Regions from separate parts of the Homo sapiens genome. Here regions 1, 2, 3, 5, 6 and 7 are each linked to region 4. The links are contacts of gene promoters, found by promoter capture Hi-C in blood cells and fetal thymus (Javierre and others, 2016). All regions are on one chromosome and are shown on one strand. Each heading gives the region's core, a stretch centred on a gene start or on the middle of the fragment in contact. The rest is flanking DNA. Distances are from core to core; before and after follow the strand shown. Region 1 overlaps DNAJC24 (DnaJ heat shock protein family (Hsp40) member C24). Region 2 overlaps IMMP1L (inner mitochondrial membrane peptidase subunit 1). Region 3 overlaps DCDC1 (doublecortin domain containing 1). Region 4 holds the start of PAX6-AS1 (PAX6 antisense RNA 1). Region 5 overlaps ELP4 (elongator acetyltransferase complex subunit 4). Region 6 overlaps IMMP1L (inner mitochondrial membrane peptidase subunit 1). Region 7 overlaps IMMP1L (inner mitochondrial membrane peptidase subunit 1).

Region 1 (3,191 bases), core at 455-2,954, 410 kb after region 4:
TAAGAATTGTCTAACAAGCTTAGTATAAGTAAATGTTATTATATGTAACATATTCAAATATGCCAGGATACATTTATGATACGTTTACAGGGGAAAACTCTTAATTCAGTATGTCACAAGCATTAAGGCCCTGGAGAACTTGTTCTAAATTTGTATCTATAAAGTAGGAGTAAAGATCAAAAGGTAGGTAATTTGTCATGGGCCAATATAGGAAGTCTGCTTGGTACAATGAATAGAAGAGGTTAGGCCTGATCATGCACCAATCTGACCCAGAAAGCCCTATAAAACCAGGAATTAATTCCTGGCTGCCCTAAACTAAAAAATATTATTAAATTTTATTATGAGTCACAAATCAGTTCTATGATAGTCAAAGTACAATTCAATCTCTTTCCCTAATTTGGTATTTTCCTGATTATTAATTGAAATAAGGTGCTCGCCATCTGAGGCTTTAAGTCTATTCAGATTCCATGACATTTATTTAATGGGTACATTCCATTAAAAAATGACACTTATAGCAAGAAAATAAGTATATCATTTGGGATGCTTAAAGCCTTGGTCCAATGTGTTTTGACAGCAACTTGCAGAGCAAAGTGAAGGTCTAAGAAAAGGAGTAACTGTCTGTGGTAGGCTGATAATGGCCCCCAAATATATAAAGTCCCAATATCTGGTACCTGTAAATGTTACTTTATTTGGAAAATGGGAGTTCACAGATATGATTACGTTGTAGTTCATGAAATGGGAAGATTTTGCTGGATTATCTGGTTGGGCTCTAAATGTATTCAAAGTGTTCTTAGAAGAAAGAGGCAGAGAAAGAGCTGACACACAGAAGAGACGGTGATGTGAAGACAGTGGAGAGAGAGAGATCTGAAATGCTGCCCTTGAAGACTGGAGTGAAGTGGCCACAAGCCAAGGAATGCCTGCAGCCTCCAGAAGCTGGAAAAGACAAGCAATGGATTCTCCACCAGATCCTCCAGAGGGAGTGCAGCGCTGCCAACACTTTGAACTCAGCCCAGTTATAATTATTTTGGACTTCTCCAGAACTATAAAAGAATAAATATTTGAAACCACCCAAGTTTCTGACAGTTTGTTTTTACTGCTATGAGAAATTAAAACCCAGTCCAAATATATTTATGATTTAAAATTGGAATGCAAGACACTAGAATGTTTTAAGAAGTTTCAATTACAAGGGCTACTCATAAAATGGTGTCATTACACACATTCTTAAAAATATGGTATTTTTCTCTATTGCCAATGGGAAAACAAGCCCCTAATCCTAGGTTTAAAGACTTTCCGATCTCAAAGTCTATGTTAATTTTGTTCCTACTATTTCTAAATCTGACCTATCCTGTGGGAGGTCGACTCATTATGATCCTAAAAGACCACAGTCATTTTCCTTCTGTTGTCAAGTCTTATTTTTTTTCTTGCCCTTAATTTCTTTTAATCCCCACTAGCCAAAGACCTTCCTACTCTTGAGAGCCCAAAGCTAGTCCCACTTCATTCATTCACCTATCAAATAAAAGACAGATGTAATCTAAAGCATTAATTAATATATCAGTTTAGGGAAAATGGACAAACTGATATATTAATACAATCCCTATCAAAATTTCAGCAGTAATCAAGACTGTAGTACTAGCATAAAGATAGCCTAGAAACAGACCATACATATATGGTCAACTGAGTTTCAACAAGGCTGCCACAGCAATTCAATGAGGAAAGGTAAGTATATAACAAATTGTTTCGAAACAACTGGATATCCCTGTGGGAGAAAAAATAACCTCAATCCTTCTAATTCCATAAACCAAACTTAATTCAGAATGAATCATACACATAAAAGTAATCCATAAAGGCAACAAGAGAATATCTTTGCCTCTTAGGGTAGGCACACAGTGCTTTGACAGAAAATAAAAAGCATAAACTGTGTAACACAAAACTGATAAACTGAACTTCATCAAATTTTAAAACCTTCTGCTCATCAAAGATACCACTAAGGAAATGAATAAACAAGCCACAGACTGAGAGAAAATACTGGCTGCATATATTTCTAACAAAGGACTTGTATCAGAATACATGAATAAAACCTATAAATCAATGATAAAAAGACAAAACTAATTAAAAACCAGATGAATAAAATTGAACAGATACTTTTTCAAAGAAAACTGATGAACAGACAGTGTGCACATGAACTTTTTTATTAGTTATTAGGAAATAAACTTTTTATTAGTTATTAGGAAAATGCAAATTAAAATCACAATGAGATATTACTACATATCTAAAAGAATGGCTAAAATAAAAATGACTGGCTGGGTGTGGTGGTGGCTCATGCCTGTAATCCCAGCACTTTGGGAGGCCAAGGTGGGCAGATCACCTGAGGTCAGGAGTTTGAGACTAGCCTGACCACCATGGTGAAACCCAGTTTTACTAAAAATACAAAAATTAGCCAGGTGTGGTGGCACGCACCAGTAGTCCCAGCTACCCAGGAGGCGAGGCACAAGAATTGCTTAAACTGGGGAGGTAGAGGTTGCAGTGAGCGGAGATGATGCCACTGCACTCCAGCCTAAATGACACAGCAAGCCTCTGTCTCAAAAAAAAAAAAAAGAAAAAGAAAAAAAAATGCTGATAACACCAAGTGTTGATAAGATATGAAATAACCAGAATTCTCATATACTGCTGACAGGAAACAATTTGGCAATTGCTTATAAAGTTACATATACATTTACTCCATGATCAATAAAAATGAAAATCACACATCCACGAAAAGATTCATAGAAGAATAGATTAACAGTCTTATTCATAACAGTCTTACTAAAACACTGGAACCATAAATGTCTATCAACTGCAGAATAGGTAAATACATTTTATTTAAATCCATAGAAGAGAAATATTCCTCAACAATTAAAAAAGAACAAATTATGACACACTCAATAACACAAATGAGTATCTAAAATATATGTTAAGTAAAAGAAGCAAGAACAAAAAGTACATACTGTATGATTACATGAACATGAAATCCCAATTTAGGTACATTTAATCTGTGGCGACAGAAACCAAAAAGTTGGTTTCCAGGTGAGAACAGGTAGTGGAAATTAAGAAAGAGGGGCATGAGGGAACTTGCTGGAGGCACAGAAATGTGCTATATCTTATTTGGGGTGGTATTTACATGATATCAAACTCACCAAACTTAACACTTAAGA
Region 2 (3,265 bases), core at 505-3,004, 360 kb after region 4:
CTCAGCCTCCCAAAGTGTTGGGATTACAGGTGTGAGCCACCGTGCCCAGCCCATTTGATGATTTTTAGATTACATCATTGTATATGGCTGAGAACCAGGAATTGTATATATTATGAGTCTCCTGATTAATTATATTAAGTTGAATAACTCCTGGGCAAATATTGTGTGTCACTAAACCTTTTAAAGTCCTATTTCACAGCAGGCTGAGGCAGGAGAATTGCTTGAACCTGGGAGATGGAGGTTGCAGTGAGCTGAGATCATGCCACTGCACTCCAGCCTGGGTGACAGAGCAAGACTCCATCTCACAAAAAAATAATAATGATAAAAAATCCTATTTCAAGTGGTGGTTCCAATCCTTGTGATACCCTTTATTCCAATTAACTCTATGAGAATGATTTATTCCAAATGAATGTCAAGTATTAATAATTTAATATATTTTCTAAAGAGCACCTCTCTGATACCCTAAAATTTTGAGTCCATTTGTTTTTTATAATTCTGAAAAAAATCTATGCCTGCTTTCATTTCAGTAAACTACAGATTTGATTCCCTTGAGCTAGTGTTTAGTTTATGGCATATTAAGTAGGTTTAGGCACTTCTCTTTCACTATTCACCTTTGCTATAACCTATTTCACATTACTGAAAATTGTTAAGAATACATTTCTTCACATTTACTGATCTTTCACCAGCCTTAGATTCTGCAGATAGAAACTCTCTTGGTCAACCTGTATGGTTTGGCATGCTCCCTAGGTAATTCTTCTTCAAATCTTTTACCCATAACAACTTCTATATACTTAATTGTAGATACAGGAATTATAAAATAAAACTTATATAATAGATTGTGTTGTTGCTCCCTTTTCTTTTTAACTTATATCAAATTATCCTTATATAGCCTTTGAATTAACTGGAGACCTAGCCCCACTGTAGCATGAAACCAAGCATCTGTGTTCCATGCCAGTGACATAATTTTATTCACAATAATCCTTGGGCATCCTGAATGAGGAGATGAACTTGTTGGCTGAATAGTTTTTGAATACACAGCTTGATATTTTTAAAAAAATTACTCGTTGCATTCAGATAAGTGAAACAAATAACTACATTCAGTAAATGAATTCAGATTCTTTGAAGATCTTATTTTGTACCCTATTCATCCAGGTTACAGGACAGCTCAAAATCTGGCATTTATGAGATATACCAAAGTAACTTTTAGAGCCAAGATAGCCAGCTGGTAACTTTTACTTAAGAAATATTACTGTCCTGAGTATTCTCTTTCTTTTACCCACAGCACAGAACTCAAGATTTCAGGGGAATCTTTGACCCCTGGCAAGGTGTCCTGTTGTTAGCTGCCTGTTTCTAAATGTAAAATAACCTTCCATTTAGGCAAGAATAAAAGTTTGCATATCTAGTATCTAAAGCACATGGATGTCTCTTCAGTCAACTGCACAGAACACTCAACCTTGAGACAGTCAGATTTTTACTATTGCTTATTCTTTCAACAAATAGTAGTGAGCACCTAATTTATAAGATGTACCATACATTATAGAGAATGTTAAGATTAATGAGATAATTGACACTAGTTTTCAAAAGCTTACTGTGTAGTAGAATAATAAGGATGTTTATAAATATAAATGAGAAAATTTTTAATAAGCTTCCTTTTAAAACTATTTGAAGGAGTTAAGAATCCAGCCGATATGTATTTTGATCTAAACGCTATGCATATATCTAGTTAGACTACCAGAAATAAAGTTTATTTATACTACTTTCTACAAAACAGCACGACTGAATTATGATTTCTATGTTGCCATTCGAGTGCAAAGTTTGTTTTAAGGGTCATATTGATTATTTGATCAAAGAACTTAAGCTTCATTAGACACCCATGGAAAAACGTCTCTTCCTCCAAAGCTACCCAAAATCAACTTTGATGGCGTGTTACAATCTTTGCAAATTTGTTCATCTGAACAGATCCACTGACATGGTTCTAGTTGGTTAGAAAGAAAATACCTTTATTCTGTTTTCAAAAGAAGGCAACACTGTGTTGCCTCCAAATTATAGAATGTAACGATTTGCTACCTTTCAACTCTTACCAAGAATAGCCTCAAGAGATCATCATTGTAAATACTATTTCTGCACTCTGTGTAAAATTTCTGATAAAGATGGTATCTTTTATTCTCTTATATAAGAAAGTTTCTTGTGAATTTCTCTTTGATTTAGTTGTTAGGGAAAATTTTGTCTTACCTCCCAAGCTAAATGTTATTTTATTAATTAATGATTTCCATGTAACTGGTCTTAATTTCTTCTGACTTGGCTCCCAAAGAGTTTAGAACCCATTTTAATGCTTCTATAGAGCAGTTATTAGGTTTCTGATTTCTTCATAATTTTCCTTTTATTCTTATGACTTTTAATATTATTTTGACATATGCTTCATTAAACTATTTCTGGAACTAGGTACAATTAATAAGCAAATATGTTAAATCCTTTTAAACGTGTGTTAGTCAACAGAATTCACATATTGCTCGTTTTATGCAGAAAGAGTATTGTGTTCTGTTTGACTGTGGTCATTAGTCCTACGTTCTATCTTTCTTCCTTTTCACTTTTTAGGATCTTTCTTATTTTTTATTACCAGATAGATTGTCAGTTCTTCCATAAATCATGACTTCTGTATGTAATCAGACCCTTATTGGTTTTATATGTTTGATATCTCATTTTATTTTTCAGAGTGTATATTTAGGCAGCTTTTAGCATTTTATTTTGTTGTATCTTTTGATTTTTTTTCTCAAATATAAGTTCTTTTGATATGGGTTATAGGACTTACATGCTATCATTCCTCAATTATTTGAGTTCTAGGGAAACATGGATGATGCTTTTACCTTTTTAGTGTGCTCTAGAGTCAATCAGTGCTACTGGCTGGACCGCAATATTTATTTACTTAATTTGTTAGTATTTATATAGAATTGTGTGGAGGGTTTTTTTTTCTTTTTTTGGTTCACTTGGGGTTTTTCTTGGTTTGTTTGTTTTGTGTGTGTGGTTTTTTTTTTTTTTTTTTTTTTTTTTTGGAGACATGGTCTCAGTCTGTTGCCCATGGTGGCACGATCTTAGCCTCACTGCAACCGTGAACTCCTGGCTTCAAGCAATCCTCTTGCCGTAGCCTCCCAAAGTGCTGAGATTATAGTTGTGAGCCACTGTACCCGGCCTATGTAGAATTGTTTTTCCACAATTTTGGTTCTAAGAATTTGGACACAGGAGTAAAGCATACTGGATACAATGCAAA
Region 3 (3,487 bases), core at 306-2,805, 480 kb after region 4:
TAGTTTAGATAGAAAGAATTAACATTGAAAATTTGTCAAAACTATCTACTTTAGTCCTGTAAGGAATCCTTTCTTCTGTGATTACAATGTTGCTGCTGTGAACAAATGTGTTCTTGGCATCTGAAGTACAATTTCCCATATTTCTTTTATAAATATTTATTGCATACCTACTATGTCCTAGACACTGAATTAAGCACTATGAATGCAAAGTGAACAGGACAGACTAGTCTCAGCTCTCATAAAATTTTTTTTAACTATAATATTATTGGAGAGTTAATTCAGGTATTACTAGCATATATTGAATGAGGCAAGGAAACTGATCAATGTATACATTTGTTTCCATAGTATCTTATTCTGGGCTGCCATAACAAAATACCTTAGGCTGAATCGTATACAAACAATAGAAATTTATTCCTCACAGTTCTGGAAGCTAGGATGTCTAAGATCAAGGCACCAGCAGTGTCTGGTGAGTGCCTGCTTCCTTATTGATAATGTGCCCTTGCGTTGTAAAAAGAGTCCACCCTTATGACTTAATTGCCTCCCTAAAGGCTCTGCCTCATAATAACATCACATTGGGGATTAAGTTTCAACTTAGAAATTTGGCAGGGGGTGGAGGGTGGCCACAAACATTCCAACCATAGCACATAGGAAAATTCATTCTTAATTTCAGGCAACCAACTGACTTAAACATGAACTTTGGGAAATGGAAAAAAGAAGTCTATTTCATTATACCAAGTTGGCTTCTAGTTTCTAAATCATCAACAGTGTAGGAGCAGTGTGAGCAAAGGTCTAGAGACTGGAAATAAATAGCATGTACAAGATGTTAAGAAAAGTTTACATTGAGGATGGGTAAGAAAAAGAGGTTTATTTCTTACTCATATAAAAGTTTATTTCTTACTTACAATGTAAAGTTTACATTGAGGACGGGTAAGAAAAAAAGGCTTATTTCTTACTCATATAAAAGTCTGGAGGGCTAGTATAATGCTCTAAGATCTTCTATTTTGTTGCTGTGCTGTGAGAAGCTTCCATTCCCAAAGTCACAGATGGTGCATTCATGGCTATTCCAGCTTTAAGCCATGATCACATTCCAGATATCAGGAAGGAAGAAAAGAAGGCTGAAAATTATGCCCCATACCCCCTTCTTTGGTGACAGTTCCCAGAAATCACATATGCCACTTCTGCTTACATTCTGCTGACCAGAATTTAGTCATGTGGTCAAGTGGCAACATGTAGATGGAAAAAAGGCTTCAGCTAGACACTGTAAAAGGGAAGAGATTCTAGTGAACATCTAACAGTTTACTCCACAATCCAACCTTTTAGCCACCAAAATATCTTTGGTACGCCCTTCTTCCTGTAGATAGAACATAACCACCTATTCTTGATCATACATGCCTGTTCTAGCTTTTAATTATGTATGTGAACCCCCAAATATGATCCATTTGAATATGGCTCAGAATCTAGGCTGTTGGGTTAATGCACTGTCCTTTTCATTAAGTCCAGGTGGTCTAGTAACCTATAAACTAAAAGTTAATGCATTTGCCACATCACACCTAACAGAATGGATGTATATTTGGAAAGGAGGAGAATAGGATTAACACAAGAGTCACTGGTTTATAGTGGTTATCAATTCTGCTAGGCTAGGTAGGAATTGTAAAAGTTCCTTTCTCTAGCAATGGAGCAATTTCCTTGATTAGTTCATCAGAGTACTCCTAATTCTGCCTTTTGGAAAGGGTCTTCCTTGTACATTGTACTTCCTGACCACATCTGATGTGGTCAATGGAGAATTTGCTGTTCTGGAGTGCTGAACAGATCTGCAGCCTGCTTCCTGCTGATACAAATGTGGGCATGAGATTTGAATACAGGTCAGTCATGTTTTTCGGCCAGCTTTGTGGTTTCTTCAGTAATTTAACACTGCTCCTTCCTCTTCCCCTAAATTAGTAGACTTCCAGTCTATAGCTAATCCCATGTTCACAGCCAAAGATCACGTCTAGACATTATTTTTAAGCCTGAGTACTGGTTTTTTATTCCCTGACTCTGTGCTTCAACATAAAGATGATTCCTTTGAGGTCACCTAACACAATAAGCTTGGGTTGAAAAACAGCAACCTTAATCTGATCTTTGACAGCTAGGCTAGTTTGATTGATTGATTGATTGATTGATTGAGACAGGGTCTCACTCACCCAGGCAGGAGTGCAGGGGCATGATCATGGCTCACTGCAGCCTCAATCTCCTGGGCTCAAGCAATCTTCCTGCCTCAGCCTCCCAAGTAGCTAGGACTAGAGGTGTGTGCAATCATACCCAGTTAAGTTACTTTTTGTAGAGTCAGGGTCTCACTGTGTTTTCCAGACTGGTCTCAAACTCCCGGACTCAAGCAGTCCTTCCTCTTCAGCCTCCCACAGTGTCGGGATTACAGGCGTGAGCCATCACACCCAACCAGGGAAGAATTCTTAAAGAAAAGTGTTGTTAAAAAGCTTAGAACCACAGTCTCATCTTATGTAGCAATCACTGTAGAGTGCTACTTTTTATAGTTTCAGTTTGGGATACACAAACAGTTGAATTCTTCAACCCTGCAAGGCCCAAAGTCCCAAATTACTAGACTCTGAGTTAAATTTATATTTTAAGCCATTCTAGTGTTATCCTTATTTCTTTGCTCTAAGTAAATACCATGTATTTTAGGTTTTTGAAAGCAATTTACTTCAAGAGAATGTCAGGTATTTCAGGATTAGGTTTAACTGCAAGTAACAAAGATCCAAATTAATACTGTTTTGAACAAACTAGGTGTTTCTTACTCATGTAAAAGTCTGGAGGTAGATAGTCCAGGGTTGGTATGGTACTCCATGTTGTCAGAGGTTCAGACTCCTTCAATCTTCCCTCAGTCCTGGCTTTCATTTTCAGCATCTCATCAAAGTTAAAGATGACCAATCCAGGACTAGCCATTGTTTTCATTCTAGGTAGCAGAAGGAAGGAAAAAGAAGGGTACACTCACTTGCATGGACCATCTCCACTAACATGCCATTGGCCATAACATGTTCATATGGTCCTGCCCAGCTACAAGGAAAACTGGAAAATACAGTCTTTATTTTAGGCAGCCATATGTCTCAGTTAAAAATCAGGGATTCTAGTTTTGTAGAAGGAACAAGGAATGGATATTGGCAGACAATTGGCAGTCTCTGCCACAAAGTTTATGCAATTATTAGAAAATACTAACATATGGACACATTAGGACATTGCAATACAATTATTTCAATGCATTTGGTGAATTCTTAACAAAGAATTCAAAATTGTCTTTTTAAAAAAATCATATTGCTAAACACTCCATGAGCTTACTAGTTCTCGCAAAGTCCTAACAATGTCCTGCAAGGTCCTGTGTTGTGTCCACCTCCTCCATACCCTTTCTAACCTCATCCCAACTACATTCTTCCTTGTTCATCTATTCATCTACTTTTGCTGTTCTTCACACTTGCCAGATATATCCCACCTTAGGACC
Region 4 (3,521 bases), core at 103-2,602:
TCGCGTAGAACGCGGCTGTCAGATCTGCCACTTCCCCTGCCGAGCGGCGGTGAGAAGTGTGGGAACCGGCGCTGCCAGGCTCACCTGCCTCCCCGCCCTCCGCTCCCAGGTAACCGCCCGGGCTCCGGCCCCGGCCCGGCTCGGGGCCCGCGGGGCCTCTCCGCTGCCAGCGACTGCTGTCCCCAAATCAAAGCCCGCCCCAAGTGGCCCCGGGGCTTGATTTTTGCTTTTAAAAGGAGGCATACAAAGATGGAAGCGAGTTACTGAGGGAGGGATAGGAAGGGGGGTGGAGGAGGGACTTGTCTTTGCCGAGTGTGCTCTTCTGCAAAAGTAGCAAAATGTTCCACTCCTAAGAGTGGACTTCCAGTCCGGCCCTGAGCTGGGAGTAGGGGGCGGGAGTCTGCTGCTGCTGTCTGCTAAAGCCACTCGCGACCGCGAAAAATGCAGGAGGTGGGGACGCACTTTGCATCCAGACCTCCTCTGCATCGCAGTTCACGACATCCACGCTTGGGAAAGTCCGTACCCGCGCCTGGAGCGCTTAAAGACACCCTGCCGCGGGTCGGGCGAGGTGCAGCAGAAGTTTCCCGCGGTTGCAAAGTGCAGATGGCTGGACCGCAACAAAGTCTAGAGATGGGGTTCGTTTCTCAGAAAGACGCGGAGTACGAAAGAATGCGGCCGACAGAGCTGGGCAGCGCGTAAAGCTCCCAGCGTGTGATTTGAGCTTCACTTCGGAAGACCTAATAATTAGCGATTCTCACTGAGCTAGAACGCGGGCTCCGGTTACTGCGGGCGCTGCGCTGGCTGCCTCGGCGGGAAGCGCGCGGGCGCCATGGGAGCCGGGCCGCCAAGCCCGGGAAAGAGAAGCGCCCACCACCCTGCGGCCCTTGGAGGGCCAGAGCCGGGGCCCGGAAGTGTCCCCTTAGTGAGTCAGGGAAGGGACGACCCAAACTTAGACTAACTTGTGGTTCAGCCGGGCGAAAGTCCTGGGAGCCCGGCCCTAAAAGCAGCTGGAGACGCCCAGGCCGGCTTAGGCGGGGCACCCAAGAACCCCGCCCGGGAGTTTGGGGCGGCCTCTGGGCCAGGCCCCGGCTAGCCCCCAACCCCCACTCCCACTCGCGCTCCTGCGCCCCCTTTCTAGGTCTTCTGGGAGCACCTTCGGAGCTCAGTCACCTGTGACAGGTGTTGGGACCTCCGCCCGACTCCGAGCGGTGGCGCCCCCTGCTCACCTCACCTGGAAACGGGGGACGAGCGCAGTGGCAGTCCGGCCGCACGCCTTACCTGGGCCGGGATCCTCTCCTCCGCGGGTTCCTCTCCCTGGAGCTGGGCGGCGAGCAGGTCGCCTGCTTCGCAGTGGGAAGTGGACCTTCTCCTCCAGTCATAAATCAAACCCAGCCATCCTCGGGCCTCCTCCCTCATTAGAGATGTTTATTGGAGATCGTGTTTATTCGGCTGTCACGGCGAGAAAACGCGGTGACATAATTACCTCTGACCAGAGTCCTCGCTCCGCGCCCAGGGCGAGCCGAGGACCTCCTCTGTCGCCTTCTCATGCCCGTGCCCTTCGTGATCGGAGGGCGCCCGTGATAGGCTTGTCTTTTTTTCCTCAGACCCTCTCATAGAATTTGGATGACTGGAATTACTATTCAGATTTCCCCAGGGCCCGGAGTTTATTTATTTATTTTAGAATTGGAAAGGAAAACCGAAGGGAACCCAACGCCCCTCCGGGGCAGAAGGGGGCAGCGCGCGCGAGGCGGAAGGACAGTCACTCTCGCTGCACAAACTTTCCCGCGGGCCGCGCCGCGCGTGCAGGGGCTGGACGCCACCCGGCGCCAGAGCCGGGCCTGAGGAGCGGGGTCTGGCCGGGAACGAGGGCTGCCAGCCTGGGTGGTGTCATTTGTTGCTTCATTTTTCATTCCCTTTCCTCTCGTGAGGAATCAGAGGCATCGGGCCGCGCGGGCTGAGAATTCTTAAATTCTCCCCGGCCGCATTCGGCTGAGCCAACCCGCAGTTCCTGTCAGCCCCTCTGTCCCCCGGGCAGCGGTTTTCCCCGCTAGCCAGGTTTGGAAGTCACCCTCTGTGAGACTGGGTTAGGAAGTGACGAAAAGCGCCGAATTGTTTTCAAATTGAAAATACTTTTTTTTTTTTTTTTGGAGATAGCGCTGACAAATATATGGGATCCCGGCTTTTGATCCCTGGCTGCCGCCTCTGTTCTCCTGTCGCTAATAAAACTCGCATTGAGCCCCTTAGTGCCTTGATTAACAGGCAGATTAACTCTTACTGGGGTTGGGAACAGCTTGTCCTAATCAATGTCATTTTAAAAGCCCGTCAGGATGCGCTTAGCTTCGGTTCCCTGGATGCTTGAGCGAGCCAGCCATGACATTTGCTCCCTCCCCCTCCCCAGCCTCAAATCCCCCAGTAAAGCCCCCAGTTCCCGCCTGCCTGTTCCCAGGTCTACAACGGGACAAATCGCAGGACCGGGTCGTTGGCCTTTAGAATAGGCAGCGGTTTAGAGAGGGGATATCCAGGGAGAAGGGACTGAGGTGGCCTTGACTTGCTTGCTTTTCCTTTGAAGCTGAACTCTTGCCTCTTGGGGGCAGAGGTTACAGGGAAAAGAGAGATGGGGGGATCGTCACAGGGTGATGAAATGGAAAGCAAACTTTTCTAGGAACCCTATTTGCAAAAATCGGAGAGTGCCGCTGATTTCAGTTGTCCTACATGTCAGGAGTTTTAAACCTAACTCCTATCTGGACAACAGCATGGAGGGACTGGGAGGCAAAGCCTTGGGAGTCTGACCCGCTGGGCTGCTAGGAATCCCTTTGCTGGGAGACTCCACTGGACAATGTTATTTTAAAGGTATTTTGGGGGTGGGCAGGGAGAAGACAGAGAGAGAAAGAGAGAGAGAGAGAGAGAGAGAGAGAGAGAGAGAGAGACAGGCTGGCCTCCCAGAGCGAACGGAAGAGGACTGAGGACTGAACCCAGGGAGCCCCTAGCACTGGCCATTTGGCAGGAGGCGAGGAAGGGCGAGGGCACCGCGGCTTCCCCCCAAGCCGAGCAGTGGCCACAGCCTGAAGGTGCCACGGGGCGGCTCTGGGATCTTCTTGGCTTTTCTAGGCTCTGGGCTCGGCGAGGCTGCCGGGTTAGCGGGAACCGGCAGGTTGCTGGAGAAAGGAGAGGGACAAAGGCCTGGAAGTGGGGGAGGCACCAGGGACTGGGCGGCCGGGATGGGAGCCTTTGCCTTTAGGGCTCACTGGACCCGTTTGCCAGCTCCGCGGACAAGGGATCCCACCTTCCCAGGGTCTGCAAAAAGAGAGACGTTTGGGGCACTACAAAGTGACGCAGGTGTCTGCCAAGACTTTCCTTCTCCAAAAAATGCCAGTCTTCACCCTTTCCAGCGCGCCGGCGCTGCGCCTCTGCTTGACCGGGGAAAGAGAGAGTTTGGAGGTGTCAGAACTGTCAGAACTCCGGATGGGAGGCTCTTGGTTCTGAAGCTGGGAGCTGGAGGCACTTCCCCCCAGAAGTGGGCA
Region 5 (3,460 bases), core at 833-3,332, 300 kb after region 4:
CATCTCAGCCTCTGAAATAGTTGGGATTATAGGAACATGTAACCATGACTGGCTAATTCTTTTTCTTTTTTAATTCTTTGATTCTTTGTAGAGATGGGGTCTCACTATATTGCCCAGGCTGGTTTTGAACTCCTGGGCTCAAACTAGCCTCCAGCCTTGGCCTCCCAAAGTGTTGAGATTACAGGCATGAGTGACCACATAACCTAAAAAATCTTATGTGTATTAAAATTCTAATGTTTAGAAAATTTGAACATTAAGACATAATGGGGACATATTAAAATCATTTTTATCACCAAATATCTTCTCAAACTTCTTTTACAAAAAGGTAAGAAGGTTCTATCATGTAAATTCACTAGATTCACATTTAGATTGGCTGTAGTAAAGTTTGGTCACTGTGAAGGATAGTTGTGGGGAATAAGATGTAACTCATTAACTAATTTAAACTTATTAACTAAAGCTTTTAAAAATCAAGCTTTTACTCTATGTGTTTTAAGAGGAATAATTTGGACCTATACATATATATATATATATATATATACACACACACACACACACACACACACACACACATGCATACAGCAGCAAAATTTCTCTATTCTTCTAAACTTGAGTTTAGTGAGACATGATCTCAAAACATTTCCACAAGATACCTTTGTATAAGGTATTTTGATGTCTCTTACTTGATAAATGGAAGGTCTAGCTGTATTTTAACTTAAAAGTTTGAATGTTTGTAGCCATGCTCCAACCAAAAAATAAATAAATAAAAAGCTAAAACAACCAACCAATCACAACAGAGTATCCTGACATATTCTTTGAAGGCTGGCTTTTAATTTACTTTTAAATTTAGTAATCCATTAGTAATTTTATCTAATTCCAAAAGCAACATAGACCTCACACTAATAGTTACCAATTAAAACTGAAATATCTTTTCCCAATACAATGTATTACAGATAAGTAATAGGGTAAGCAAACAATCATCTTATTTTTATAATGAAAACAGGCAAGAAAGTAGTAAAACGGCCTTGTTTACTATTTCCTCTCCCCTTTCATCCTAACTTAGAAAAATTACCAACACACTTTCTAAGTCACTAAGCAAAATAAATTCTTCTTTTTTTGAGATGGGGTCTCACTGTCACCCAGGCTGGAGTATAGTGGTGTGATCACTGCTCACTGCAGACTTGAACTCCCCAGGCTCAGGGCTTCTCCCCCATCAGCCTCCTGAGTAGCTGGGACTACAGGTGTGCACCACCAAGCTTGGGTGATTTTTGTATTTTCTGAAGAGCCAGGGTCTCTCTATGTTGCCCAGGCTTGTCTCAAACTCCCAGGCTCAAGCAATCCACCCATCTTGGCTTCCCAAAGTGCTGGGATTATAAGTGTGAGCTACCACACCTGGCCAGCAAATAAACTCTTGTTTTTACTTCTAGATGTCTTTAAGATGTATACTTATTTCCATCTTACTAAAAATAAAAGTAGAGTACTTTATGTACACAAAAGAATACAAGAGGTTGAAAGGTTAAAGAATCATGACTACTCTTCAATAATTATGACACAATTATTGGCTGGGCAAACATGAGAATCAAAATAAAGGTTTGAAAGGTTAAAGATACTCAGCAAGCTTGATATTTTAGACAATTAATTTCATCAAGATTTCACATATTTTAAAAATAGGCATTTTTTCTTAAAACCAGAAAAGATATTTAATACTTAAGAAATAATATTAGAAAATTTAAGATCTTGCAAATGCCAGTATCTTCCACGATTTTCAAAATCATAAGACAACGAAAGGGCTTTTGTTGTTATTTCAATTCATGCAGTAGTAAGACAATTACATTAGTACTATTAATATTTTAAAGGAACAACATTCAATCCCCATACTCTCCCCAATAGAAACCTCTGACTAAGCTATACATTTTGGGTAAATGAGGTCAAATTAATACACTAGAATATGAAAGCCTTTCTTCAATGTTAGAGAAAGTAAAAGGGAAAAGAAATGAAAGTCAAGAAAGATAACAGTGATTTATGCCAGTCCTTTCCAGACCTCTATATAAAGGAATAATTTTGCTTAAAATTACAAAAAAGTATTTCTGGGAAAATGCAATGTAAAAAACAAGTTCATATTCTTTCCTTGGTTCATAGTAATAGCCTTAACTACTTAATTAATGCTGGATCTCAAATTTAATTGCAGTTATTTTGATAACAACTCTACTTTTTCTTCCCCAAGCATTATAAAACATAGTGACTACTCTTCATTATGACACAATTATTAGCTGGACAAACATGAGAATCAAAATAAAGCTAGGAACTGTGAATAGTTCTATAGATTAAGTCACATGAAATAATTTTACATAGCAATAAAAAATACATTTTTCTTAAATATACAGCTAATTATATTGGTTGGTAAAATATCATAACCAAGATTGTGTTAAATATGTAGTCCAAGCTCAATGTATATTATCCCATGCTACACATTAACATAATAAAGGAAATAAGCCCACTAGTGTTTACTTTTTGACATCAATGTTAAAAAATGGCTGTTACCATTAAGCTTCTTTCAGGGTACTCTTCCTAGACTATTATTTACCTCAAATCCCTATCTGACATTCCCTTCACTATCAAAATTTAACAGCACAGAGGTCAAATCTGCAGTTACCCTTCCTTTAAGCATTTTTCTGGAGGATGAAGTTGTGGTTAATTCTTCCAGGTTAGATATATGGTTCTATGATGGAGTATATACCTTTTACAGGGAATGGGGTTGGGTGGGCGGGGCGGGGGAGGGGGGGCGGAGGGCAGGGGGCATTTCTGCCAGAATTCTTTAGTTGCTATAATCTTTCTTTGGAAACCCCTGGAAGAGAAATGGAGTACCTCTTCAATCGATGGAATATCTATCTTTCCTTTTCCAAAATATAAGTGTTATTTACATACAGTGTCCTCAAATAACAATATAAATATCCCAGAAGGGCAAGGTTGAGAACATGGGTTAGATAATCTGGGAATTTAAACAATTTTAATGTAGCTAACTTGGGAAATGTATATCAATATCTCATAATACAATTAGGTTGTCAGAACAAAAACATTATATATTAGGTCATTTGAAAAATGCAGATATTGAAAATTTTCAAATTCATGAAATGCTTTGGAATAAGTAATGGAATTATCAGTGTATCATCAAATGACTAACAATTAGCATGTATGATGCCTTTCAAATATATTTTGCATCCATGTTTAAAATTACAATGACGTCACGGTGGCAGTAGTAAAATGTCACCGTACTACACGGAAGCTATAATATTTACTTGTTACACAGTAACCACATAATATATTCAGGCAATAATCACAATATTACAGTATAGTTTTACCGTTCTAACACCATAACATCCTATTATCATTACCTTTTGTCACAATATAGTCATATTAGGCTTGTCGCAACTTGAGTCAAATAACATTTTCAAGTAATAACATA
Region 6 (3,439 bases), core at 242-2,741, 320 kb after region 4:
AAAGTGAAAGGTTCAAAGAATAACATTAAAGGTCATTTGGTATTACAATTTTTCCATTAGTCAAAATTAAAGATTTGAAAATAATTTTATAGTCCATTTGGTATTCTAAGGTTGGATTTTTTAAGAATATAAAGCAAATTATGTTTTTTCTATTAACATTTCCTAAATCAACTCACATGAAAATTAATAGATTATCATCATACATGACGATCGTTTTTCTCTCACTGAGCATTGGAATATGTTCACTTTACTACTTATCAGTAGCCCAGTTTTGATTTTCTAACTGAAGTATTTGTGTCTGCCCTCTGAACTGGCTCAAGGTTTTGAGCCCTTTAAAAAAATTTGTGTATGTGTGATAAAAATATACGTAACATAAAATTCACTACTTTCATCATTTTTAAGTATAAGTGAAGTCACATTAAGAGTACTTACAATGTTGTGTAATCATTGCCACTATTTCTAAAACTTTTTCATCATTCAAGAAGAAATATTGTACCCCGCCGGGTGCAGTGGCTCACGCCTGTAATCCCAACACTTTGGCAGGCGGATCACGAGGTCAAGAGATCGAGACCATACTGGCTAACATGCTGAAACCCCGTCTCTACTAAAAATAGAAAAATTAGCTGGGCGTGGTAGCGCGTGCCTCTAGTCCCAGCTACTTGGGAGGCTGAGGCAGGAGAATTGCTTGAACCCAGGAGGCGGAGGTTGCGGTGAGCGGAGATCGCACCACTGCACTCCAGTCTGGCGACAGAGCGAGACTCCCATCTCAAAAAAAAAAAAAAAAAAAGAAAAGAAATATTGTACCCAAGAAGCAGTAACTTGTTATTCTCTCTTGTTTCAACCACTAATAACCTGTATTCTACTCTCAGTGAATTTGCCAACTTATTATAAGCACCTCATATAAGTGGAATCATACTATATTCTTGTTAATATTTGCATAATATTTTTCACTTAGCATAATGTTTTTCAAAGTTCATGTATTTTGTATCATATATTAAAACTTCATTTTTTTATGGCTGAATAATCTATTGCAGATGCTCTTTGACTTATGATGGAGTTATGTCCTGATAAACCCAATTTAAGTTGAAAATACCATAAGTTGAAAATGTATTTAATACCCTGATAAACCCATTATAAGGTTGAAAATCATAAGTGAAACCATTGCTAAGTCAGGGACCATCTGTGTGTGTATATATATATAATATGTAATACATATATGTAACATGTGCAATCTTATATAAGATTATAGTATATGATATAAGATTATCATATATAATAGATGATATATATGATATACGTAATAGATGATATATCATTGTATATAATATATAAGATTGTATTATATATGATATAAGATCATATATATCAGATATATATAAGATTATATAATATACTCTTAGATATATAAAATTATAGATTATATAATGTATAATATATGTTATATATAGGATTATCTATTATAATATATGATTATCCTATATCAGATTACATATGTAAATTATAACATATTAACATCATTTAGCATTAGGATGTACCCTAAAATTTAAAGTATAATAATAATAAAATTTTAAAAAGTTATAACATATATATAAGATAACATATTTATAATATACACACACACACACACACACATATATCACAGTTTGTTTATCCATTCATCTGTTGATAGACTCTTGGGTTGTTTCTACCTTTGGCTATTGTAAATAGTGCTACAGTGAACATTGGCATAGAAGTATCTGTTTGAATCTCTGTTTTCATTTCCTTTGGGTATATACCATACAATGGAATTGCTGGATTATATGAAAATTCTATGATTAACTTTTTAAGGTATCACCAAACTGTTTTCCACATTGGCTGTACCATTTTGCATTCCCACCAGGAGTGCGGAAGGGTTACAATTTCACCACATCCTTAGCAACATTTGTTATTTTCTGTTTTTTTGATAATAGTCATCCTAATGCATATGATGTGATATCTTATTGTGGTTTTGATATGCATTTCCCTAATGACTAGGGATGTTTAACATCTTTTCATGTGCTTATTGGCCATTTGTATACCTTGTCTGGAGAGATGTCTTTTGAAAACCTTTGCCGGTTTTGAATTGAGTAATGGCTTTGTTTTTTTTTTTTTTGCGGGTTTTTGAGTTATAGGAGTTCTTTATATATTCTGGACCGTGACCCTTAATTAGATGTATGATATGCAAATACTTTCTCCTTGTGATAGTATTTTTTGTTGCTCAAAAGTTTTTAATTTGAGAAAGTCTAGTTTATATATTTTTATTTCTTTTGTGACCTTTGTTTTTGTTGCCATATTCAATGAATCATGGCCAATCAAGAGTTGTGTAGTTTTAGCTCTTCCATTTAGGTTTTTGATCTATTTTGAGTTAATTTTATATGGTGTAAGACAAAAGTCCAACTTCATTCTTTTTTATGTTGATATCTAGTTTTCTCAATACCATGTGTTGAAAAGACTGCCTTTTCCCCATTGAATGGTCTTGGCACCCTTGTCAAAAATCATTTGACCATTTATGTCAATGCTATTTCTGTGCTCTTTATTCTATTCCATTGGTCTATAGATCTGTCATTATGCCAGTACCACGTTTTTGCTTACTATAACTTTGTACTAAATTTTGACTCAGGGCTTAAAATAATAATATCAACATTTGAAATCAGCGTGTAAGTCCTTTCGCCATGAGTGTAAGTTTCCCGAGGCCTTCCCAGCCCTGCAGAACTGTGAGTCAACTAAACCTCTTTTCTTTATAAATTATCCAGTCTCAGGCAGTTCTTTGTGCATGCCTGAGGCTAGCATGAGAATGGACTAATACAGTAAATTGGTACTGAGGGAGAGGGGCACTGCTATAAGGATACCTGAAAATGTGGAATTGACTTTGGAACAGGGTAACAGGCAGAGGTTGGAACAGTTTGGAGGGCTCAGAAGAAGACAGGAAAATGTAGGAAAGTTTGGAACTTCCTAGAGACTTGGAAGGCTCAGAAGACACGAAGATGTGGGAAAGTTTGGAACTTCTTGGAGACTTGTTGAATGGCTTTGACCAAAATGCTGATAGTGATATGGACAATGAAGTCCAGGCTGAGGTGGTCTCAGATGGAGATGAGCAACTTACTAGGAACTGGAGCAAAGGTAACTCTGCTATGCTTTAGCAAAGAGACTGGTGGCATTTTGCCACTGCCCTGGAGATCCGTGGAACTTTGAACTTGAAAGAAATGATTTAGGGTATCTGGTGGAAGAAATTTCTAAGCAGTGAAGTATTCAAGAGGAAACAGAGCATAAAAGTTTGGAAAATTTGGGCTGGTCGCGGTGGCTCACGCCTGTAATCCCAGCACTTTGGGAGGCCAAGGTGGGCGGATCACGAGGTCAGGAGATTGAGACCATCCTGGCTAACACAGTGAAACCTGTTTCTACTAAAAATACAAAAAATTAG
Region 7 (3,406 bases), core at 14-2,513, 340 kb after region 4:
AATTGTGTCACCTGACTTTTGAGTACTTATCAGACATTGTACAGATATGTTTAAAGAGATTGTGATGATGACGTGATAATGACTAATGTAATAAATGTGGAGTGTTCCTCAAAAATTGTCGGCAAATCAAACTTGTCAAGTAAGCCATATTGCAAGTATACTTAGGAGTTTAGTTTTACAAGAATTCCATCGCAAATCTTAGTACTTTTTTTTTATATAAAACTTACAACGTCTTCACATCCTTAGATTTATTCTGGACAGATGTTTGTGTAAATGTATATGAATCAGTCTTTTCATATAAATTTGCTTAGATAAGCTGGTATAGCTGTTATGTCATGGGTGGAAGAAGCTGATTATAAAATATCATTTTCCTAATTTCTCTAGAATTCTATACATTTAAAATGTTCTGTACATATTTAAATGTGAGGAGAGATTTCTTCACTGATAACTATTTTAAAAACATATAGTTAAGAATTATAAAACCTTGAATTACAATTTATTTGACTTGATTCAAATATTTTAAAGTATAGTTATAAAATGATCAAGGAAATTTATATAAAATACTGTAGGCATACATATTTTATTTAAAATGGTCATACATAATTGACTTTGCACAAGTATGAGTTAGAGAAAACCATATTTATGAAATCTCTGAGTTTTTCACATTTTCTAAATTTCGAGGGCTATGACCTAATTTTATGTAATATCATTTTTAGTTATTAGCCAATGCCTGCTGTATTCTTGGACTCACATTTTTATTGACTACTCCCTGTGACTCCTGCATTTAAAGTGTTGGCACAAAATGTTAAACTATTCTTTAAACAATACCTCTAGTTTCTTGGAGATGATAAATCCGTCCATTGATTTCCTAATTTTATTATGTACACAGTCAATTGTAATCCAAGATTACAGCAAACAAGATGTTAATTTCTAGACATAATCTATGTACATTTCAATTACAGAGCATGATTGTTATAGAAGCACAGAATAAAAAAGAATAACATTTGTGCTATCCTCACAGGAGCTGTCAATAAAAGATGTAATAGGGGATTTAGAAATCTGGAAATGGCCAACTAATTTATGTGAATCTATTTTATTTCAGCTAGAAAGACCAAGCTCTTTTTCGTCTGCACTGCATATTGCAGAGCACAGGCTGTCTATACAAAACCAGGCGGCTGCATATGGATAGTCCCCTGATATCATTCACTTGCTGTGTAATCTTATTATGCAAAGTTCTAATCTTCACCTAGAATGAATGCCTCTGGGTCAGAATATAGTCATATCAGGGTTTTTGAGGTCATGTTTTGTGATCCTTAGCTTATTCTTCTAAGTAGGGCTGGGATTTAAAGGGTATTCCCCAGATACTAGCAGAGATAGACAGCAGAATCTGCTGCCTTTTTGGAAGACAAGACCAACATGAGGTCCCTGGTAGGATTAAACTTGATTTGTAGCTGTAGGATTTTTTAACAGATGTATTATTGGACAGGGAATAGGGGGCCAACCAGCACAGCAAAACTGAATCACGACTGACATTCTCAGGGAGTTTGCTGCCGGCTAAAACAGCAGCTGCATGTGGATTTGACTTCTTTCAGGTGAAGCGACTTCCAGTCATTTGGAAAGGATGGGATGAAAAGGAACCTTGGTGATAATTTTGATGTCTGCAAGATTTAGTACCAGTGTAATGGGATTATCGGTAACACCTTCACTGCAGAAAAAGCCACCTGGCGCTATAACTGGCAGCAACTGAGAACTAATCCTTTCCCATCTCTTGGATGTCATTCATGAAGCTCAAAGCTATTTCTGCCCTGCTAACTGTGATTAATTTTATAAACAACAACAACAAAAAATCAGGTCATCAAGGCAAAGAATATGCTCTTTATTATTTATAATATGTAACCTTATGTTAAGCTATATGACTTAAAATTATGCAAGACATATACAAACTAAGCTATATGATTCAAAATTTATTAAGCTATTGAAATAGAAAAGTTGATCAATGATGTCTTGGTTTTTTTAATTGAATGGCAAATTATTTACTATTGGTAACAATTCATATTTCAGATCAAATATTAATTTAAATACTTTTATATTCTTTTGGCTATAGAGCCACTATGAAATTAATCAAAATGTCTAGCTGTAAGGAATTGAAATAATATGTTTCGTCATATGTTTTACCTGTTTTTGACTGCTTCAGTTGCTACTGATGAAATGTTTTTGGTGAATAAAACATAATTTGAAATATATAGACACCTATATTTTTTGTAATGAAGGTAATGCTAGCTGAAACTGCTGATGAAAGGGCTTTTGGTGAAATATATGATTTTAATATATAAAAGTATAGAGTAAATAGGAATACTGAATGACTTATTTTTAAAAATCAGTGATTCTTAGTAACTTTTCCTTTAGATGGAGGTTTAGTTGTGTGCTTAAAAATCAGTGAGTTAGTTAATTGATTTTGTTAGCTTTTATTTCAACTAAAAACTTTATCAAGTACTTTGGCTGGAGGTGTTAATTATTTTAATATTTTTTTCTAACACGATCCAATATAAACTGAGAGAAAATGAAGTGAAATTATCCCATCAGTCACCCAAACAGTATGCAACGTAACTGCCAAGACTAGAAAAGATAATTAGTGTTGTCAGTGTTATGATCTTAGAGTACTTAATTTTAAAATATTTATTCATAGAACTTGGATTTTATCTCATAGCTCTTTTGTTTAGTAGCTGTATCTTTTAAAAAATAAATTATACAGCCTCAGTCTAAATGTTTTTAAACTTTAACATTTTAACTAAATATAGGTGACTAAAGTATTTTCTTGAAATTATAAAAATAATTAAAATATAATCAATTTTATACCTGATGCACACCATTAATGTACTACCACCTCTGTTTATGTGTAGTATCTTTTATTCTTTTCCATATAAAGTCTTTACTAGAAAAGTCAGCAAATATAATAAATTTATACAGAGTTCCCGGGTTTGGTTTAACTGGTTCCAAGCTACTGTATTTCAAATTGTATTTCCAAACTTTTACCACATTTTGAATGAATAAATGAGAAAGCTTGCCAATATTTCCAGTAAACTGCATTGTGTTACTTTTATAAAGGACGACTTTTGCCTTCTATTTGTATGTTTGCTGTTTGGAAAAATTTTTATTTTATTATGATGAAAAAAGCTATCCATGAAGTAAATAAGTGGACTAAAATCTTTTTCTTACCCTCATAATAAAATTACTTATTTTAAATCTAAAATATTTGGTTTATGTGTAATTTCACATTATTTTGCCAGGTAGGCTATTATCTCAGCATAACTTTCTATGGTAGCTTGTAGTATTATATATTTATTTTTAAAAGTAGTTTTGCATTCAAAACAGAATTTGTCTGGAAGGTTTTACTAAACCTGGTCAG

What was found. Contacts are between HindIII fragments. The CHiCAGO score rates a contact against its expected background, and 5 or more counts as called.
Region 1: a fragment that was not itself captured here is called in contact with the fragment with the promoter of PAX6-AS1 in region 4 in 2 of 17 cell types (megakaryocytes and M2 macrophages); the score reaches 6.1 in megakaryocytes.
Region 2: a fragment that was not itself captured here is called in contact with the fragment with the promoter of PAX6-AS1 in region 4 in 1 of 17 cell types (megakaryocytes); the score reaches 6.8 in megakaryocytes.
Region 3: a fragment that was not itself captured here is called in contact with the fragment with the promoter of PAX6-AS1 in region 4 in 1 of 17 cell types (megakaryocytes); the score reaches 7.2 in megakaryocytes.
Region 5: a contact is called between a fragment that was not itself captured here and the fragment with the promoter of PAX6-AS1 in region 4, in 4 of 17 cell types (megakaryocytes, endothelial precursors, erythroblasts and 1 more). The highest score is 8.4, in megakaryocytes.
Region 6: a contact is called between a fragment that was not itself captured here and the fragment with the promoter of PAX6-AS1 in region 4, in 1 of 17 cell types (megakaryocytes). The highest score is 5.8, in megakaryocytes.
Region 7: a contact is called between a fragment that was not itself captured here and the fragment with the promoter of PAX6-AS1 in region 4, in 1 of 17 cell types (erythroblasts). The highest score is 6.1, in erythroblasts.

Annotation. Positions count from the first base shown.
Region 1 is chr11:31,409,293-31,412,483 of GRCh38, reverse strand. The region is part of intron 2 of DNAJC24 (DnaJ heat shock protein family (Hsp40) member C24); the gene reads right to left. Among named protein-coding and RNA genes, the nearest start is that of DNAJC24, 41 kb to the right of the region's middle. The HindIII fragment of the contact is 3,368 bases long and covers 21-3,191 here.
Region 2 is chr11:31,456,661-31,459,925 of GRCh38, reverse strand. The region is part of intron 3 of IMMP1L (inner mitochondrial membrane peptidase subunit 1); the gene reads left to right. Among named protein-coding and RNA genes, the nearest start is that of IMMP1L, 51 kb to the left of the region's middle. The HindIII fragment of the contact is 213 bases long and covers 1,648-1,860 here.
Region 3 is chr11:31,336,335-31,339,821 of GRCh38, reverse strand. All of the region lies in intron 1 of DCDC1 (doublecortin domain containing 1), which reads left to right. Among named protein-coding and RNA genes, the nearest start is that of DCDC1, 32 kb to the left of the region's middle. The HindIII fragment of the contact is 1,062 bases long and covers 1,025-2,086 here.
Region 4 is chr11:31,814,397-31,817,917 of GRCh38, reverse strand. PAX6-AS1 (PAX6 antisense RNA 1) reads right to left here and starts at 1,352. Exons shown (of 3, transcript NR_033971.1): 1 at 1,279-1,352. It also overlaps a transcript of PAX6 not described here. RefSeq lists enhancers at 1-40, 1,562-2,323, a promoter at 1-115 and a silencer at 3,287-3,521. The HindIII fragment of the contact is 5,434 bases long and covers 1-3,521 here.
Region 5 is chr11:31,512,112-31,515,571 of GRCh38, reverse strand. The region is part of intron 1 of ELP4 (elongator acetyltransferase complex subunit 4); the gene reads right to left. Among named protein-coding and RNA genes, the nearest start is that of ELP4, 4.1 kb to the right of the region's middle. The HindIII fragment of the contact is 930 bases long and covers 1,618-2,547 here.
Region 6 is chr11:31,494,809-31,498,247 of GRCh38, reverse strand. All of the region lies in intron 1 of IMMP1L (inner mitochondrial membrane peptidase subunit 1), which reads left to right. Among named protein-coding and RNA genes, the nearest start is that of IMMP1L, 13 kb to the left of the region's middle. The HindIII fragment of the contact is 8,362 bases long and covers 1-3,439 here.
Region 7 is chr11:31,475,946-31,479,351 of GRCh38, reverse strand. All of the region lies in intron 1 of IMMP1L (inner mitochondrial membrane peptidase subunit 1), which reads left to right. Among named protein-coding and RNA genes, the nearest start is that of IMMP1L, 32 kb to the left of the region's middle. RefSeq lists an enhancer at 459-2,029. The HindIII fragment of the contact is 3,598 bases long and covers 1-3,062 here.